Regions from separate parts of the Homo sapiens genome. Here regions 1, 2, 3 and 4 are each linked to region 5. Evidence: promoter capture Hi-C in 16 types of primary human blood cells and fetal thymus (Javierre and others, 2016). All regions are on one chromosome and are shown on one strand. Each heading gives the region's core, a stretch centred on a gene start or on the middle of the fragment in contact. The rest is flanking DNA. Distances are from core to core; before and after follow the strand shown.

Region 1 (3,595 bases), core at 290-2,789, 210 kb before region 5:
TTGAAAGGAGGGCACAGGGAGGTTGGGAACTTGTGGGAGATGGGACTAGAGAAGACAAAAGAGTTTTTGGAAGGGGAGCCACAGGCTGACCCTTCATTTTTCATTTATTGCAGGAGAGGGAGCGAGCCCCCAAATGTTCCACACTGTGTCCCCAGGGCCCCCCTCTGCCCGCCCTCCCTGTCGAGTTCCTCCTACAACTCCACTTAATGGGGGTCCTGGCTCCCTTCCCCCAGAACCACCCTCAGTTTCCCAGGCCTTTCCCACTCTAGCAGGCCCTGGGGGGCTTTTCCCCCCAAGGCTTGCTGACCCAGTCCCTTCTGGGGGCAGTAGCAGCCCCCGTTTCCTCCCAAGGGGCAATGCCCCCTCTCCAGCCCCACCTCCTCCACCTGCTATCAGCCTCAATGCTCCCTCATACAACTGGGGAGCTGCCCTCAGATCCAGCCTGGTGCCCTCTGACCTGGGCTCTCCTCCGGCCCCTCATGCCTCCTCCTCACCACCTTCAGACCCTCCTCTCTTCCACTGTAGTGATGCCTTAACACCCCCTCCCCTGCCCCCGAGCAATAATCTCCCCGCCCACCCTGGTCCTGCCTCTCAGCCACCAGTGTCTTCAGCCACTATGCACCTGCCCCTGGTCCTGGGGCCCCTGGGAGGGGCCCCCACGGTGGAGGGGCCTGGGGCACCCCCCTTCCTTGCTAGCAGCCTACTCTCTGCAGCGGCCAAGGCACAGCATCCCCCACTACCCCCTCCCAGCACTTTACAGGGCCGAAGGCCCCGTGCCCAGGCACCCTCAGCTTCCCACTCCTCATCACTTCGTCCCTCTCAGCGTCGTCCCCGCAGACCCCCTACTGTATTTCGATTGCTAGAAGGGAGAGGCCCTCAAACCCCTAGACGGAGCCGTCCTCGGGCCCCTGCTCCTGTCCCCCAACCCTTTTCTCTCCCGGAGCCATCCCAACCAATTCTCCCTTCTGTGCTGTCCCTGCTGGGACTCCCCACCCCTGGCCCTTCCCACTCTGATGGAAGCTTTAACCTTTTGGGGTCAGATGCACACCTTCCTCCTCCCCCAACCCTCTCCTCAGGGAGCCCTCCCCAGCCCAGGCACCCCATCCAGCCCTCCCTGCCTGGGACCACCAGTGGCAGCCTCAGCAGTGTGCCAGGTATGTGAGTATTGTGGAGCCCTTCCTCATCCTGGCTGGAAAGAGGCAGCCAAGGCATTTAGGGGAATGTTCAGAGAGCTCTTTGAGGGTTTTCTGGGTTGGGGGCAGGGAGGTTGGCTTCTTTGGATGATGGGAGAAAGGGCCTCCCTTGAGCTGAATTTCTCTCCTCTTTTACAGGTGCCCCTGCCCCACCAGCTGCCTCCAAAGCCCCAGTAGTCCCCAGCCCTGTGCTTCAAAGCCCATCCGAAGGACTGGGGATGGGGGCAGGCCCGGCCTGCCCTCTGCCTCCCCTGGCTGGTGGAGAGGCTTTCCCTTTCCCCAGCCCTGAGCAGGGCCTGGCACTGAGTGGAGCTGGCTTCCCTGGGATGCTTGGGGCCTTGCCTCTCCCTCTGAGTCTGGGGCAGCCTCCACCTTCTCCATTGCTCAACCACAGTTTATTTGGTGTGCTGACTGGGGGAGGAGGACAACCTCCCCCTGAGCCCCTGCTACCCCCACCAGGAGGACCTGGTCCTCCCCTAGCCCCAGGAGAGCCTGAAGGGCCTTCGCTTTTGGTGGCTTCCTTGCTTCCTCCACCACCCTCAGACCTTCTTCCACCTCCTTCAGCACCTCCCAGCAACCTCCTTGCCTCTTTCCTGCCCCTGTTGGCTCTGGGCCCCACAGCTGGGGATGGGGAGGGATCTGCAGAGGGAGCCGGGGGTCCAAGTGGGGAGCCATTTTCAGGCTTGGGAGACCTGTCCCCCCTACTTTTCCCCCCACTTTCAGCCCCCCCTACCCTCATAGCTTTAAATTCTGCGCTGCTGGCTGCCACCCTGGATCCCCCCTCGGGGACACCCCCCCAGGTGAGGATGGGGGTGAGTAGGTGGGACAGAACAAGATGTAGAATAAGAGATGGGAGCTGGGAATCAAAAGCTTTCAGTTTCATTCCTGAGCTCTTCCTTGGGGCCTTTGGGGAGGCCTTAGTTCTTGGCTGGGGGTAGGATGACTGCAAGAATTGGGTCTGTATTTAATAAGCATGGCCTATCTCACTTGAGGCTTCAGTCAGATAGTGGATGTGAAAGCACTATAAATCTGTTGAGTATTTTACACGCGTAAGTGTTAGAATCATTCTTTTTTCTTAGCCCTGTGTCCTGAGTGCCCCCCAACCTGGACCACCTACCTCCAGTGTCACCACGGCAACTACTGACCCGGGGGCCTCCTCTCTGGGCAAGGCCCCCTCCAACTCAGGGAGACCCCCCCAACTCCTTAGCCCTCTGCTGGGTGCCAGCCTGCTGGGTGAGTCTGAGGGAGTGTGAATTCACACTCTTGGTGTGAAAAAGCAGGAGTAAAACTTGGGAGTAGTGGCTGAATAAATTGGGGAAGAAAGTCTTTGGCCACTGGATAAAGCCTAAAGAGAATAGTAGGTCTGCTCAGCCTAATTGGTTTGCCTAGGGAGAGACCCCTGACTATAATTTCTCAACAGGTGACCTGTCTTCACTGACCAGCAGCCCTGGAGCCCTCCCCAGCCTGTTGCAGCCTCCTGGCCCTCTTCTCTCTGGCCAGTTGGGGCTGCAGCTCCTCCCTGGGGGGGGAGCTCCTCCACCCCTCTCAGAGGCTTCTAGTCCCCTAGCCTGCCTGCTACAGAGTCTCCAGGTGAGGGTGTGGGCATATATTTGTCAGGGAGATAATTTTTTCTCAAACTGGAAATTTAGGGCTTTCTGAGTTATAGTAGAAGAGGGACGGTATTTGAGATTGACTGAGAACTTATTTTTTTGCCAGCAGATCCCTCCAGAGCAGCCAGAAGCCCCCTGTCTACCCCCCGAGAGCCCTGCCTCAGCCCTCGAACCAGAGCCTGCCAGGCCTCCCCTCAGTGCCTTAGCCCCACCCCATGGTTCTCCCGACCCCCCAGTCCCTGAGCTGCTCACTGGGAGGGGGTCAGGGAAACGGGGCCGGAGGGGAGGAGGGGGACTTAGGGGCATTAATGGTGAGGCCAGGCCAGCCCGGGGCCGAAAGCCTGGCAGCCGGCGGGAGCCTGGCCGACTGGCCCTCAAATGGGGGACACGTGGTGGCTTCAATGGACAAATGGAAAGGTCCCCAAGAAGAACCCACCATTGGCAGCATAATGGGGAGCTGGCTGAAGGGGGTGCTGAGCCCAAGGATCCACCCCCTCCCGGGCCCCATTCTGAGGACCTTAAGGTGAGTGCAGAGTGCTGGTAGTCTGGGCTCAGGGGCTCTGAGGAAAGGTTGGGGCTTTGGAGCCTTTTTCGAAATTTCCCACACACATAGTCCATCTTTTCTCAGGTGCCCCCGGGAGTAGTCAGAAAGTCTCGTCGTGGCCGTAGGAGAAAATACAAGTGAGTGTTGGGCCTACTATAGTGCTGGCCTTTGCCTACTTCTTTTTGGTTTGGACAGTTCTAATGTCCAAATAGTGGCTTGGTTTTCAAAAGGGCAGATTCTTATTTGAA
Region 2 (3,484 bases), core at 525-3,024, 190 kb before region 5:
CAATAAACCATACTAAATGTTTCCCCTCACAGTTAAAATGTATCCGTACCTAATTACTCCATCCTCAGAATTCTCGGATCTAAAAATGCAACCACAGTCTCACATCCGCTGATGTGAAATATTTACATTCTTCCTCAAATTTGTTTTGCTCTAAAATCTTGGAATCACTTTCTTAATTCCTTGCCCAATGGATACTGGATATTCATATGGAAAAAGTATTTCTCCATATTTCAAAGTCTAGTTCTTGGTAGCAGTTTATTACAAGTGCCCAGGCTTCATGATTCATTTCCATGGGTTAGAACCCAGGGGCCTAAGTCACTAGCTCCAAACCTGTTTTGAGATATTTCAATTTTATTTAAAAGGCCCAAGAATCAGGGCTTTGCAAACAGATGTTGTTAGCTGTAATTCCGCTGACTTGACTCTCCCTCCTGCCATTGCTCATTGGTGGCTGCAAGCCCAGCAAGGTCTTTGCAAGCCCTGCAACCTATATACCACCCAGGCTGGGGTTGGCATACCCGCTTATTGCTGTAGCTCCCCCGAGAAAGGGAAGGACCTGTCTAGGGGAGAAAGGTCAGAGTCCGGAGGAGTCTGTGGCAGCACACATTCTTACCGCATCGAACTCCGCTTGATCATCCTCAGGTAGGTCGCTAGTTTCATAAACATCTGGCTCATTCCTGGCCTGCAGGTAGAAGCAGTGACCACCCAACCTCACTACCCAGCATCCAACAACACCCCTTCCCCCACTCCATTTGAATAAGCTAACAGAGAAGGCGGGGTGTGATGTCAGGGTTCTGTCCTTTCTCCTCCACCTGCCCCGTGAGTCAACAGTATGTCAGTTCCCATGTCTCAAGGGGTAGGGATGACAGCGGAAACAATTGGGACCTGACAGTAAACGGTGAGTGTAAGTGATAGCAACGATGTTACCCTAAATCTAGAGGCGGGCAGGTCCTTGGCAATCACTATTGCCAAAGAAGGTGAAGGCTATCCTCCAATTAGGCCCCGTACACCACCACCCTGGCACAAGGATTGAGAGTGACTCAGGACCTTAGTACTCAAGGTCCTGTGTCCCAACCCTCACCTTGAGAAGCAGGCAGGGCAGCACAAAAGGAAGGTACACGCCAGGATTGTCATGGGAGTGGGGGCTGGGGGAGGGCATAGGTTCCCTCAAGGATAGAGCTCCCCATCTGGCACAAGAGGGTTCTGCCAGATGGCAGAACCTCTTCCTTGGCAGGATGAAGGCCATCGTTAAGTGGTCTGGTGTGTGTGTCTGGGGTAGCGATGGGGTCTTATGGAGAGATTTGGGGGGGACATGGGAGGCGTTGACACGGATGGTGGAAAAACTCAGGCACAAGAGGTCAGTACCCGGAGTCGATTTCTGGGCCGAGCTACCGGCGACTGCCGGAAAGGGGGCCTGGTGCGCCGTCCGGCGGCCCGGCCCAGTCGGGTCAGAAGAGTTCGGGGGGTGCTGAGGCCGATCGGAGAACGAGCGGCGGGAGCCCTTGGGCGGAGGATGGGCTGCAGGCGGGAGGGGTCGCGGGCTGGTTTCTGCTGGGGGTCCTTGGGAGGTCGGGGGCGCGGTCCTGGGGAGCCGGGGCCGGTCCTGTACTCACAATGCCGGGAAGGTCGGCGTATTTAGGGTCCGCCATGGCGGCGGCGAGACGGGCTGGGGGACCCGGGCCTCGGTGGAGCCGGGGCCGGTGTTCGGGTAGGGGAGAGGCTGGGTTCGGGTCCCGGGCTAAGGCGGCGGCAAAGGGAGCGGCAGATGAGCAGGAAGTCTCGCGACAGCAGTAGCACAGCAGAAGGGTAAAGCAAAAGTCGCGAGAACAGCCCTGCTGCCACACCCCTGGAGAGGCCGGGATTGGGGAGAACGAGGCCAGGGAATGAGGTAATGGCCAGGGGACGCCGCCTAGGATTGTGGGATGTGTAGTTTTGGTGTACTGGAGCTTGGGCGGGGAGCGACAATAACGAACCTTGGGGAGCTATTTCATACAGCCTTTTCTCTCACTTTTACAGCAAGTCAGTGAAAGAACATTTATAATTCCTGTTTGGGGCTCCCAGGAATAAAATGACTAGATTAAATGATACAGGTAGTCATACTGTGACACAGCCGGGGTTTCAAAAACAAGAAGTTTGCTTGATACTGTGTATTATAAAAACAAAATAAAAACAAGAAGTAAAATTTAGTAAACGCGTAGTGTATGTTAGGAATGAAAAAGTTAGGCAATCTTCTCAAGTAAGGGCTTTCAGATAATTTGAATTTCAGATAATAAGTAGGTGTGTGTGTGTGGTGTGTGGTGTGTGGGTATACTAACCCCCCAAAAATTAAGTATCTGAAATTCACATTTAACTGGGCATCCTGTTTTTGTTTTTTGTTTTTCAAATCTGGCAATTCTATCTGAAGTTCATAAGTAGGTAAGTGGTGTCTCCATGTCTGTCTGAACACTCTCTGGGCTCTTAACTACTTCGTTAATAGTTCTCAGACTTTTATTTATTTTTCAATTTTTTCAATTTTGTGGGTACACAGTAGGTGTATGTATTTATGGGACACATGAGATATTTTGATACAGGCATGCAATGTGAAATAAGCACATCATGGAGAAGAGGGTATCCATCCTCTCAAGCATTTATCCTTTAAGTTACAAATAATCCAATTACTCTTTAAGTTATTTTAAAATGTACAGTTGAGTTATTCTTGACTATAGTCACCCTATTGTGCCATCAAATAGTAGGTCTTATTATACTTTCTAATTTTTTGTACCTATTCACCAACCTTACCTTCCGTTCTCAGACTTTTAAATTTCATCGTTCAATAAAATTAAAACAACTACAAACCTTGAAGATTTGCCTTTTTATTTTATCAAGTAAGTATATTACAAATAGAAAACCTATTATTTACTGTCACCATCATTACTTGGTAGAAAAGCAAGAAGGACACACTCAGAATAAAAGATAGTCCTTTGAAACTTATCAAATCCATCTTTATATTAAAAAAAAACTCACCATTGTTCTTTTGGAGGTGAGGGCATACTCAGTGAACTTTTGTCTCTGACCAGTGACCCTCCATGGACTGGCATTTTGAAACCCCTTTACTAAAGATGCCACCTTGGAGCCCCTGGGGACCCAAGGATGGGATGTTTCCCAGGATGTTTCCTGAGCTTGCAGGATGCTGCAACACTTAGAAATTGTGCCAAACCAAGTGACTAGAGAGTTCCTGAGTTCGGAACTCGTTGTCTTTCTTTCTCCTGGCTCCTCCCCAAGCCTCTATCCCTTTCTCCATAGTCCTACAGCTTTCCTGTCCCATTCCTTATGTTGGACTCTTTTCTTTCAGTTCCCTTAAGATTCAAGGTAGGTTAGAGGTGTAGCCCCAATGTGGGAAACCCCCTGAGTTCTGAATAGTTAGGTCTTGTCTGGCCAGGCTATCAGCCTCTTACTTTTGTCCCATAGTGTCTTAAGTGACCTTAACCACTCACCAGACAGTTGCTGA
Region 3 (3,555 bases), core at 823-3,322, 140 kb after region 5:
TCTGTCTACCTTGGCCTCCCAAATTGCTGGGATTATTGGCATGACCACCACGCCTGGCCTCAAGCCTTATTTAAAGCCACCTCTTCCTCTGGACTTCACAGTAAATTGAGCCAATAAATTCTCCATATTGTTTAAACCAGTTGAATTGGAGATTGGTTTACTGCAACCTAAAGATTCCTAACTGATACAGAAATGAGTTCCATAAGGTGTTTCAAGAGACAGGCCCTAAAAATGGGATTGTCCAACCAAAGAAGTAAGATGAAGGATAAAGAACCCCTACATTTTCGGCTGAGAAATTGGCCATCTAATTAGCTATACAGTTTCCTGTTGTGACTTGGGGTGCAGATTACACAATCTGCGGCTGTAGCGGTACACTACTTAGTAGAAAAATGTAGAGTGTTGGATTGGGTTGGCTCCTTCTTGTTAATATTAATAAAGTACTGTAAAAAGGTAAGTTGCTGGCCTGGTGCAGTGGCTCACGCCTGTAATCCCAGCACTTTGGGAGACCAAGGTGGGCGGATCACGAGGTCAGGAGTTCGAGGCCAGCCTGATCAGCATGGTGAAACCCCGTCTCTACGAAAAATACAAAAATTAGCCCAGCATGGTGGTGCACACCTGTAATCCCAGCTACTCGGGAGGCTGAGGCAGGAGAATCTCTTGAACCCAGGAGGTGGAGGTTGCAGTGAGCTGAGATCATGCCACTGCCCTCCAGCCTGGGTGACAGAGCGAGACTCCGTCTCAAAAAAAAAAAAAAAAAAAAAGGGTAAGCTTATGTTCAAACTAGCTTACCCCAAAACAGAGAAGGAAGAAAATACAGCTTTGATAAGAGAAGCCCTTTCTGCCTACGGTAAAAAAAAAAAAAAAAAAAAAAAAAAATGGCTGAGAGGACTAGAAAGCCCTGAAAACTTTGTCCCAAGGTATGTTAGTATTAGGTTAGTGCAAAAGTAATTGCGTTTTTTGCCATCGAAAAGAATTGCAAAACTGCAATTACTTTTGCACTAACCTAATGTGAACAGAAACAGGGATGGGGGATTGCATTGTATGGGATATGGGATATGAGATATGGGATATGGGATACAAGATATGGGATATGGGATATGGAACATGGGACATGGGACATGGGATATGGATATGGTCTATGGGATATGAATATGGGCTATGGGACATGGATATGAGGTATGGGATATGGATATAGGCTATGGGATATGGATGTGGGATATGGATATGGGATGTGGGATATGGATATGGGATATGGGATGTGGATGTGGGATATGGATATGGGATATGGGCTATGCCATATGGGATATGGATGTGGGATATGGGATATGGATGTGGAATATGGATATGGGCTATGGGCTATGGATGTGGGATATGGATATGGGCTATGGGCTACGGATGTGGGATATGGGATATGGAATATGGGATATGGATGTGGGATATGGGATATGGGATATTGATGTGGGATATGGATGTGGGATATGGATATGGGCTATGGGCTATGGATGTGGGATATGGATATGGGATATGGATATGGGCTATGGATGTGGGATATGGGATATGGAATATGGGACATGGGATATGGGCTGTGGGATATGAGATATGGGGTATGGATGTGGGATATGGGATATGAGATATGGGCTATGGATGTGGGATATGGGCTATGGACTATGGGATATGGATGTGGGCTATAGGATATGGAATATGGGATATAGGATATGGGATATGGTTGATGGCTTATCCCTAGCCCTTTCCCAAGCACCTCCTGCTTTTTATTCCTCCTAAAACAAAGGTGACCATAACTTCCATGACAGATGTAAGTGGGACACAGCCTATTGGCAACGACCAGATTTAGAGTGCCTCCCAGGCAGTTTCTTCAAGTTGTTCAAAGGTACAGTTTGAGACTAAACGTAAGGCTGGGTATTTGGGAAGAGAACTAAGACCTATTTGCTTAGTGAAAGAAATACCCAGGCCAGACTCCAGACTCAAAGACTAGTCTCACAAAGAGCTCTGGTTTTGGCCGGGCGCGGTGGCTCACGCCTGTAATCTCAGCACTTTAGGAGGCGGAGGCGGGCGGATCGCCTGAGGTCGGGAGTTCTAGACCAGACTGACCACCATGGAGAAACCCCATCTCTACTAAAAATACAAAAATTAGCTGGGCTTGGTGGCGCCTACCTGTAATCCCAGCTACTCGAGAGGCTGAGGCAGGAAAATTCCTTGAACCTGGGAGGTGGAGGTTGCAGGGAGCCGAGATCATGCCATTGCACTCCAGCCTGGGCAACAAGAATGAAACTCTGTCTCAAGGGGAGCTCTGGTTTCATATACTAGCTCATAGAATCAACCAGAAGCAAATAAACTTGAAGCCCACAAAGAAACTTCAAGCTCAGATGACAATGGCTAGAGACTTCAACTCCTAACATAATTCTCAGGTCCCAAAGCACAACGAATTTGTCTTCACAGAACCACTGCTTTAATGTCTTCTGTGAACATTAAAACAGTGGTTCTCACACTTTTGTGTACAGAAGACGTTTATTAAAAATACAGATTATTGGGCTTCATCCCCAAAGAATCTGATTCCTTCCATCTGGGATTGGGCTTGGGGATCTGCATTATTAACAAATATCCTTGATGATCCACATGTGGGTGGCCAGGGAGCCCCGCTTTGGGAAACACTGCATTGAAGGAAATTATTACTTTTTTTTTTTGAGACGGAATCTCGCTCTGTTGCCCAGGCTGGAGTGCAGTGGTATGATCTCGGCTCACTGCAACCTCTGCCTCCTGGGTTCAAGCAATTCTCCTGCCTCAGCCTCCCCAGTAGCTGGGATTACAGGCCCATGCCACCACACCCGGCTAATATATATATATGTTTTTAGTTTTTGTATTTTTAGTAGAGACGGGGTTTCACCACATTGGTCAGGCTGGTCTCGAACTCCTGACCTCGTGATCCGCCGGCCTCGGCTTCCCAAAGTGCTGGGATTACAGGCATGAGTCACGGCGCCTGGCCTAGTATTAAATTCTTTAGGGATGATCAGCAGGACTCATTTTGTCCTGATAGTATCTGTGCACTGTGTAGGGCCCAGACTGAGAGCTCAGCACAGCCTTGTCTATTAGACCTGAAAAGCATGGGTTTCTGGAACCAAGGTGGTTTTGGGAAGTAAGCAGACTATGATTCCAGGAACTGATTTGCCCTGAGTCCCTGCTCCCTTACTTCTTGATCATGTTTAATTCTGCCTTGGCTCTATTAGGATTGCTTTGTCCAGACACTGACCTGGCAGTGAGTGTGCCTGGGATCCTCTGTCAGTGTCCCTTGTATAGTCAGAGAGTTCTGGACACATCTGTGGGAGGTAGAGAATGTGACAAACCCTGGGGAGAGTGTTTACTAAGCTTTTCCATGTTTATTTTCTTTCCTCCATCTCACCTTAGGACAGGGAGTATTCTGAAAGCCTTAGTGAAGCAGTGACACTTTTCTGGCACCTTGAATGACTCATATGTCTCAGTGCCACACACCCTCCATTGAAGGCCTTGGGATTGTCAAGGTCAGGATATTTAAAGTCACAT
Region 4 (3,505 bases), core at 901-3,400, 170 kb before region 5:
GGAACATGCTATAAATATATGTCACTAACTTTGCATCTTTCACTTAGTACATCTAAAGATCTTTCCATATCAGGGTACGTGGATCTGTTGAGGAAGATATTTCTAGCTTGAGATACTTTTTAGTGTTAATGAATTGTTCTTCAATTTTCATCACCTGTGGCCCTATTGTCTTTTTTCATCTGGTTTCCCAGGGAGGAGTTTGGGGTAGTGGAGTGCTCAATCATCACACCACGACTAAGATCCCCTAACACAATCTCACTGTGCGACACTCCTCTACCCCACAGACACAACTCCTGGCATCAGTACCTTTAGTTTCTCTTATTCTCCCACATTTCTTTTCTTTTCTTCTTCTTTTTTTTTTTGAGATGGAGTCTCGCTCTATCGCCAGGCTGGAGTGCAGTGGCGCAATCTCGGCTCACTGCAACCTCTGCCTCTCGGGTTCAAGCGATTCTCCTGTCTCTGCCTCCCGAGTAGCTGGGACTACAGGCACGTGCCACCACACCAGGCTAATTTTTGTATTTTTAGTAGAGACGGGGTTTCACCATATTGGTCAGGCTGGTCTTGAACTCCTGACCTCGTGATCCGCCTGCCTCAGCCTCTTAAAATGATGGGATTACAGGTGTGAGCCACCACGCCCGGCCATTCTCCCACATTTCTGTTCATTAAGGGCATTGAAGAAAAGGGTGCCTTTCTCAGCTGCTGGAAGGAGGTTGTGGTATTTCTTTTCCCTCACATCCTGCCTGTTGACGTCTGATATCTTTTATTTTCATTCCAGGGGAAGCCATATGTTTTTGACCGTGTATTCCCCCCAAACACGACTCAAGAGCAAGTTTATCATGCATGTGCCATGCAGATTGTCAAAGGTAATAGATTTCTTTTTAGAATGTCTCTTCTCAGCACCCCATTTCCTACCCGACCTATCTCCACCAGTACTCTTTCTCTACTGTCTCTTCCAGATGTCCTTGCTGGCTACAATGGCACCATTTTTGCTTATGGACAGACATCCTCAGGGAAAACACATACCATGGAGGTGAGGGTTCTGGCTTTGGTGGTTGAGGGGCTAGGAGTGTTAATGGAAGATCAGGGAATCTCAGTGGGGGAAGGTCTAGGAATCAAGGATTGCCTGGTCCAGAGGCAGATAGATGAGTACAGAGGATGAACTGAAGGGCAATATTAGGGGAAGTTTAATGGAATCCCTCCAACCCACTGCAGTGGATCATCCTTTCCACTACTCCAGTCTTCTTTTGATCGGGAAAAGCAATGGAAGTCCAAAGGGCTACTCAATTATCTCCTTGCTCCTCTAAAAGGCAGACATGGTGGTGACCATCTCCTAACTTAGGATGTTCTTCTTATTGACTCTTGCCTTGGTGTTCACCTGCATACATCTGAGTTGTCTCATTCTCCCTGAGCCCCAGCTTCACTCTCAAATACCTTCACTCGCCAGGGAAAGCTGCACGACCCTCAGCTGATGGGAATCATTCCTCGAATTGCCCGAGACATCTTCAACCACATCTACTCCATGGATGAGAACCTTGAGTTCCACATCAAGGTGACCAGGGCACGACAGCTGGGCATTCAGATGGGGACTGGGAGGGGAAGATCTAAAATCTTCCCACTGAAGAGCCTGGGCTCCCCAACTTGACTCCCTTTCCGGTTACCAGAGTTCTTTGTCAAGATGTTCTCTTCTGTTCTTTTCCTCCCACCACCGTTTGAGCAGGTCACATTAGTATGGGATTCCTGAACTAGATTTAAGATAGGCCCTCTTTACTTCACACTCCTTCTTTCTTCTTAACCAGGTTTCTTACTTTGAAATTTACCTGGACAAAATTCGTGACCTTCTGGATGGTGAGTGTTTTGTCCCAGTGGATGAGGGTGTGTGAGGAGGGTGGAGAAAAGAAAGCTCACATTGCATTTGGAATTAGGTACCAATTGACAAGAGATGCAGAGGGCACACAGCACCCAAGTCTTTTGGCCCCGTTTACCAGAATTTCCAAAAACTGAGAAGGTCAGGAGATGAGCTTAGCAGCCAAGGACTACATATAAACAGTTCGAGAGGATCTGGGGCCGAGGAGCAGGAGCCCTGAGGAGGAGAAGGAGGAGGAACTGAGCCTTCAGCTCGTGCAGGGAGTTTAGGCTTCACAGGGAGAGTCTTCCTTTAGCACAGAGAAGAAAACCACCATCTGAGCTGACTGCAAGGTGCAGATGGGGGCGGTGGAAGTACTAGTCTTGCTTACCCTGCATTCTTTTGATTCAGTGACCAAGACAAATCTGTCCGTGCACGAGGACAAGAACCGGGTGCCATTTGTCAAGGTGAGAGTGGGTGTGGGGCACCTATGTGGGGCCAGTGTATTGAGAATGTTGGTGGGGGAGGAGCATAGGTCAGTGACCCTGAAGTTGGAGGGTGGATATCCTGGAGGAATGAGATGTGCCTAGGGGCCAGGGAGAGTCTAGGGGATCAGAAAAGATACTGTCTTGGCTGGGCATGGTGGCTCATACCTGTAATCCCAGCACTTTGGGAGGCTGAGGTGGGTGGATCACTTGAGGCCGGGAGTTCAAGACCAGCCTGGCCAATATAGTGAAACCCCGTTTCTACTAAAAATACAAAAAATTAACTGGGCGTGGTGGCACATGCTTGTAATCCCAGCTATTTGGGACACTGAAGCAGGAGAATCTCTTGAACCTGGGAGGCAGAGGTTGCGGTGAGCCGAGATTGCGCCACTGCACTCCAGCCTGGGCGACAGAGTGAGAACCTGTCTTTAAAAAAAAAGAAGAAAAGAAAAGATACTGTCTTGAAAGGTCATTGGTCAGTGTGCATGCAATTTAATTTGCAAATCAAAGTTTACTGGAAGAAATGCCTGTAATCCCAACACTTTAGAAGGCTGAGGTGGGAGGATCACTTGAGGAGTTCAAGATCAGCCTGGCCAACATAGCAAGACCCGTCTCTCTTATTTAATCTAATTTTTTTTTTTTTTTTTTTTGGAGACAGAGTCTCACTCTGTTGCCCAGGCTGGAGTGCAGTGGCTCGACCTAGGGTCACTGCAACCTCCCTGTCCTGGGTTCAAACGATTCTCCTGCGTCAGGCTCCCGAGTAGCTGGGACTACAGGCATGTGCCACCACGCCTGGCTGATTTTAGTATTTTTAGTAGAGACGGGGTTTCACCATGTTGGCCAGGCTGGTCTCTAATTCCTGACCTCAGGTGATCCACCTGCCTCAGCCTCCCAAAGTGCTGGAATTACAGGCATGAGCCACTATGCTGAGTCTCTTGTTTAAAAAAAAAAAAAAATTTTTGTCAGGCATGGTGGCACACACCTGTAGTCCCAGCTACTCAGGAGGCTGAGGCGGGAGAATTGCTTGAGCTCAAGAGTTTGAGGTTGCAGTGAGCCATGATAGTGCCACTGCACTCCAGCCTGTGTAGTAGAGAGACAGTGGTTTTTTTTGTTTGTTTGTTTTTGTTTTTGGAGACAGATTCTCACTCTGTCACCCAGGCTGTAGTGCAATGGCATG
Region 5 (3,786 bases), core at 90-2,589:
GCAAGTCACTGTTGTCCAAGGTCTTACTCTTGCCTTTCCGAGGGGACAACTTCCCTCGGGCTCCAGCCCCAGCCCCGACCCCACCAGAGGTCGAAGCTGTAGAGCCCCCTCCCCCGGCGGCGGCGGCGGTGGCGGCGGCAGAGACCGAAGCTCCAGTCCCGGCGCTGCTCTTTGACCCCTTGACCCTGGGCTTGCCCTCGCTTTCGGGCCATGACAGGCGGCTACCCGCGCCCTTGCCCCCGCCGGCTTTGGCTCCACTCGTGGTCACGGTCTTGCAAGGCTTGGGAGCCGGCGGAGGAGGCGCCACCTTGAGCCTCCGGCTGCCGGTGCCAGGGTGCGGAGAGGATGAGCCAGGGATGCCGCCGCCCGCCCGGCCTTCGGGCTCCGGGCCGCCCCAGCTCGGGCTGCTGAGCAGGGGGCGCCGGGAGGAGGTGGGGGCGCCCCCAGGCTTGGGGTCGGGGCTCAGTCCCCCGGAGAGCGGGGGTCCCGGAGGGACGGCCCAGAGGGAGAGGCGGCGGCCGGGAGCGGGGGAGACTGGGCGGGCCGGACTGGCCGGAGCCGGGGACAGGGCTGGGGGCTCCGCGCCCCCGGTGCCCGCGCTGCTCGTGCTGATCCACAGCGCATCCTGCCGGTGGAAGAGACGTTCGTGCCGCTTCTTGCCCGGCTCCTCCGCGCCTCGGGGGCTGCCAGGATCCCCAGTCTCGGAGCCTCTGGCACCGGCGGCGCCGGCCGCGGCCGCAGACGGAGAAGGCGGCGGCGGAGGCACCGACTCGAGCTTAACCAGGGTCAGCGAGATGAGGTAGGTCGTTGTCCGGCGCTGAAGCGCGCCCGCGCCCCGGCTCATGGGGCCCGGAGACCCCCGAGCTGGGGAGGGGAGGGGACTCCCCCGGACTGCCTCAGGGGGGCCCGGCCATGGGGCCGCCCTGCTCGCTGCCCCCAGCCCCCGGACCCCGCTGAGCCCCCGGCCCGGCTCCGCTGTCGCCGCCGCCTCCGCCGCCTCCGCTTGCGCCCCCCTCCCATCACATGGGGCGCCCCCTCCCCATGCTCCCCGCCCTGCGCCCCCACCCTCTTGGAGCCCCGGGACCTTGGTGCTGCTCCAGGGAGGCGCGCCGGACCGTCCACCCCGGCCTGGGTGGGGGCGCTGAGATGGGTGGGGGAGGGCGGGGAGGACAGTAGTGGGGGCAAATGGGGGAGAGAGAGGAAAAGGGAGCAGAAAAGGGGACCGGAGGCTAGGGGAAACGAACCTGTGCGGGGGAGGCAGGGGCGGGGAATTGGGACTCAAGGGACAGGGGCCGCGGATGCGGTCGGAAAGAGGGTCTAGAGGAGGGTGGGAAGCTAGTGGGGCTGGCCGTGCGGGGGATTCGCAGGGGCGCGGGGAGGATGCTGGGGATGGAGATACAGGAGGCGGCGGGGGAGGAAAGAGGGAACGGGAGGTGGGTGGGAACCCACGGGTCTGGGGTCTGGGAGGGGAGGGGCGTGAGATCCGGGCGAAGAGTCCGGGGGCCTCGCCTGGGCTCGGCTTGGTCCGGATGCGCGCTGTGTCCGGGCGCTCCCCTCACATTGAGGAGGAGGCGGCCCCCAGGCCCCCCCACCCTATCTCCCCCCCACCTTTTCTCCACCAGCACCGATGTCTGCGAGGGCGGTGCAAAATCCAGGGCTGGATTTCTCTCCCAAATCCTGGGCTGGATTTCCTGGGACTTGGACTCACCTCCTCCAACAACCTAGCCCCCTCCTCTCGCGCACCAAGGTTAGGAAGCGCGATTGTGAGGTATGGCATTTAGGGATAAGGGTGAAAATCGATCTATTGGGTGGACAGGGGCCGCGGTAAACAGAGCAAACCCAGGGTCACTGCCAATTCTGGGGAAGATGAAGTGGGAAAGTGGGGGCCCTGAAATCCCTTCCCCCAGGATCTCTTGTCTCCCCCAGGTACCTGGACGGTTCCCGTTCTCATGACCCAGCTCCCTTTCCCACTCACACCACCACATTTAATACTTTGACGGGGCCAAGACTTGAGCTCGACTGTCCCAAAGTGAACTTGGAAAATGTTCCCCAGGGATGGGGACAAACATGGAACTTAGCAGGGTAGGAGAGAAGGGAGAGATCTGAGTGCTGGAGGAGCCCAGGCCACAGGGTAAGTCAAAGGCTCCAGCTCTAGGAGGAGGGAGAAGGATGTGTCTTAGACTGATACCCCCCCATGCCAAAATGCATCCAGTCTCCATAGCAACCGTAGCTCCAAGAGTGCCTCAGAAACAGCGGGCAGAAGCAGAGAGGAATCCGTGTGTATGGTGGGTAGGGGACCAACCGCGGGATGCTGAATTAGTGGAGGCACTGCCCTGACACCTGGCTACCCACAGGTGGAGGATTTCACTCCCCAAGTATAAGGACCCTTCAGTTGAGGCAGTGAGAGCCGGCCTCTTCAGGGTTCCCTTTCAGTCTCCTGAGGTTTGCTGAGTGGGATTCTTTCAGAAGATTAAAGAGGAGGCAGGCAGAGTGAATGGAAACCGTCTGCTCCGTGTCCCCCACCCCTCTAGGGGTCTTGGAGTTCAAGGCTCTCTATCCTCCAGCCAGGTGAGAATCCTGAAGTGGTTAGGCCAAAGTGGAAAAGAGGTTGAGACCCCTTGGGGGTGGGGTAAGATGGGCGAAGGAAGGTCTCTCTGCAGCCTTGGAGACCCCTTCCCGGGACTTGGGGAGTCACAGCAGTCCCCTGATTTGGCGTCCCACCCTCCTGACGCAGCTGAGACTATAATAAGTGCTGCCGTGGGCGGCTCTTGGAGGCAGGAGCCCGCAGCGTGCTTGGCCTGGTGGGGGGCTGAGGGTGGGGGGGCTGAGCCAGGATGCCAGGAGCCCTTTGTTCTCCCAGAGGCCTGTATCCAATCCCTCCAATGTTCTGTCCTGGGGCTCAGCAGTTTCTCCCTCCCTCCCTACAGAACCAAGATGACACCATCCCCAGGACAGGAGACCCTTCAGTAGTGTTTTTTGATGGAGAGGGTGAAGGAGAATTGTTGGCTCTGGCTTAAACTTCCCTCCTTTGATGGCCTCGGTTTTCCTTTATGTTCAATGGGAACAGAATACTAATTCTTAGAGAAGGAGTAAAACAAATCACTTATGAGGAGTGAAGCCTTCTCAGGGATTTCCACCTCCACCCCTCCTCACCCTCCTCCCTCTCCAGAGCTAAGCACAGCTTTTCTGCCTGGCCTAAACCGCTCTTCTCCTTTATTATTATTATCATTATTATTTTTGAGAGGGGTGGGGCTTAGAGTTTCTCCCTAGGAGGCCCCATGGCCCACTCCCCCTTGGTCTGCCTTTCCAAACACTAAGGCTGTCAGGGGAAGCTTCAGGTGTAGTTCCTGGCAAAGGGTATGGGACAGGAGGTGAGAGGGGCACTAGCCTCCGAAGAACAATGGGAAGGGGATCATCAGACTGTCCCACTAGGCATCCAAAGCAAGCTGTTCCTTCCCCAAGTTATACTCTGGTGTACTAGCAGAGAGGTCTGGCAGGAGGTGTCCTTGAGGGAAAGAATGATCTCTTGACAACCACCCAGGTAGGCAGGTAACAATGGAGAAGACTGAAATGGCTGGAAGAGATCAGGATATGATGGAAGAAGTGTTTCCACCAGACACCTTTCATGAGCAAAGAAGGCTGCTTTTGTTAGCTCTTTGCTGCATCAGAGGTGAATGGAATGACAGCGAGCTGGAACAACCTCCAGTTCCACCAGTTCCTCAGTGGTAGGGCCTTGTGGATGGAGAGAAGCTGTTCCTGCCAGGGCTCCACCACAGGACTGAAGCC

Evidence for each region. The method cuts DNA at HindIII sites, captures the fragments that hold promoters and counts their contacts. A CHiCAGO score of 5 or more calls a contact.
Region 1: a contact is called between a fragment that was not itself captured here and the fragment with the promoter of AGAP2 in region 5, in 12 of 17 cell types (naive CD8 T cells, naive CD4 T cells, M1 macrophages and 9 more). The highest score is 8.0, in naive CD8 T cells.
Region 2: the fragment with the promoter of DCTN2 here is called in contact with the fragment with the promoter of AGAP2 in region 5 in 10 of 17 cell types (M1 macrophages, M2 macrophages, M0 macrophages and 7 more); the score reaches 11.2 in M1 macrophages.
Region 3: a contact is called between a fragment that was not itself captured here and the fragment with the promoter of AGAP2 in region 5, in 1 of 17 cell types (M2 macrophages). The highest score is 5.5, in M2 macrophages.
Region 4: a contact is called between a fragment that was not itself captured here and the fragment with the promoter of AGAP2 in region 5, in 12 of 17 cell types (M1 macrophages, erythroblasts, M2 macrophages and 9 more). The highest score is 19.4, in M1 macrophages.

The regions. Positions count from the first base shown.
Region 1 is chr12:57,525,235-57,528,829 of GRCh38, forward strand. MBD6 (methyl-CpG binding domain protein 6) reads left to right here. Exons shown (of 13, transcript NM_052897.4): 6 at 114-1,154; 7 at 1,332-1,993; 8 at 2,273-2,426; 9 at 2,614-2,783; 10 at 2,913-3,326; 11 at 3,432-3,484. Among named protein-coding and RNA genes, the nearest start is that of MBD6, 4.2 kb to the left of the region's middle. The HindIII fragment of the contact is 1,043 bases long and covers 1,019-2,061 here.
Region 2 is chr12:57,545,418-57,548,901 of GRCh38, forward strand. It overlaps DCTN2 (dynactin subunit 2), which reads right to left and starts at 1,775. Exons shown (of 14, transcript NM_001261413.2): 1 at 1,611-1,775; 2 at 611-679. The coding sequence starts at 1,646. RefSeq lists an enhancer at 1,904-2,043. The HindIII fragment of the contact is 9,827 bases long and covers 1-3,484 here.
Region 3 is chr12:57,878,239-57,881,793 of GRCh38, forward strand. All of the region lies in intron 1 of LOC283387 (a long non-coding RNA gene), which reads right to left. All of the region lies in intron 1 of LOC124902948 (a long non-coding RNA gene), which reads left to right. Among named protein-coding and RNA genes, the nearest start is that of CTDSP2, 33 kb to the left of the region's middle. The HindIII fragment of the contact is 2,613 bases long and covers 767-3,379 here.
Region 4 is chr12:57,562,664-57,566,168 of GRCh38, forward strand. It overlaps KIF5A (kinesin family member 5A), which reads left to right. Exons shown (of 29, transcript NM_004984.4): 2 at 776-863; 3 at 957-1,030; 4 at 1,445-1,549; 5 at 1,797-1,845; 6 at 2,255-2,310. Among named protein-coding and RNA genes, the nearest start is that of KIF5A, 14 kb to the left of the region's middle. RefSeq lists a silencer at 409-626. The HindIII fragment of the contact is 4,556 bases long and covers 1-3,505 here.
Region 5 is chr12:57,737,403-57,741,188 of GRCh38, forward strand. AGAP2 (ArfGAP with GTPase domain, ankyrin repeat and PH domain 2) reads right to left here and starts at 1,340. Exons shown (of 19, transcript NM_001122772.3): 1 at 1-1,340. The coding sequence starts at 844. RefSeq lists a silencer at 493-712. The HindIII fragment of the contact is 3,748 bases long and covers 1-3,330 here.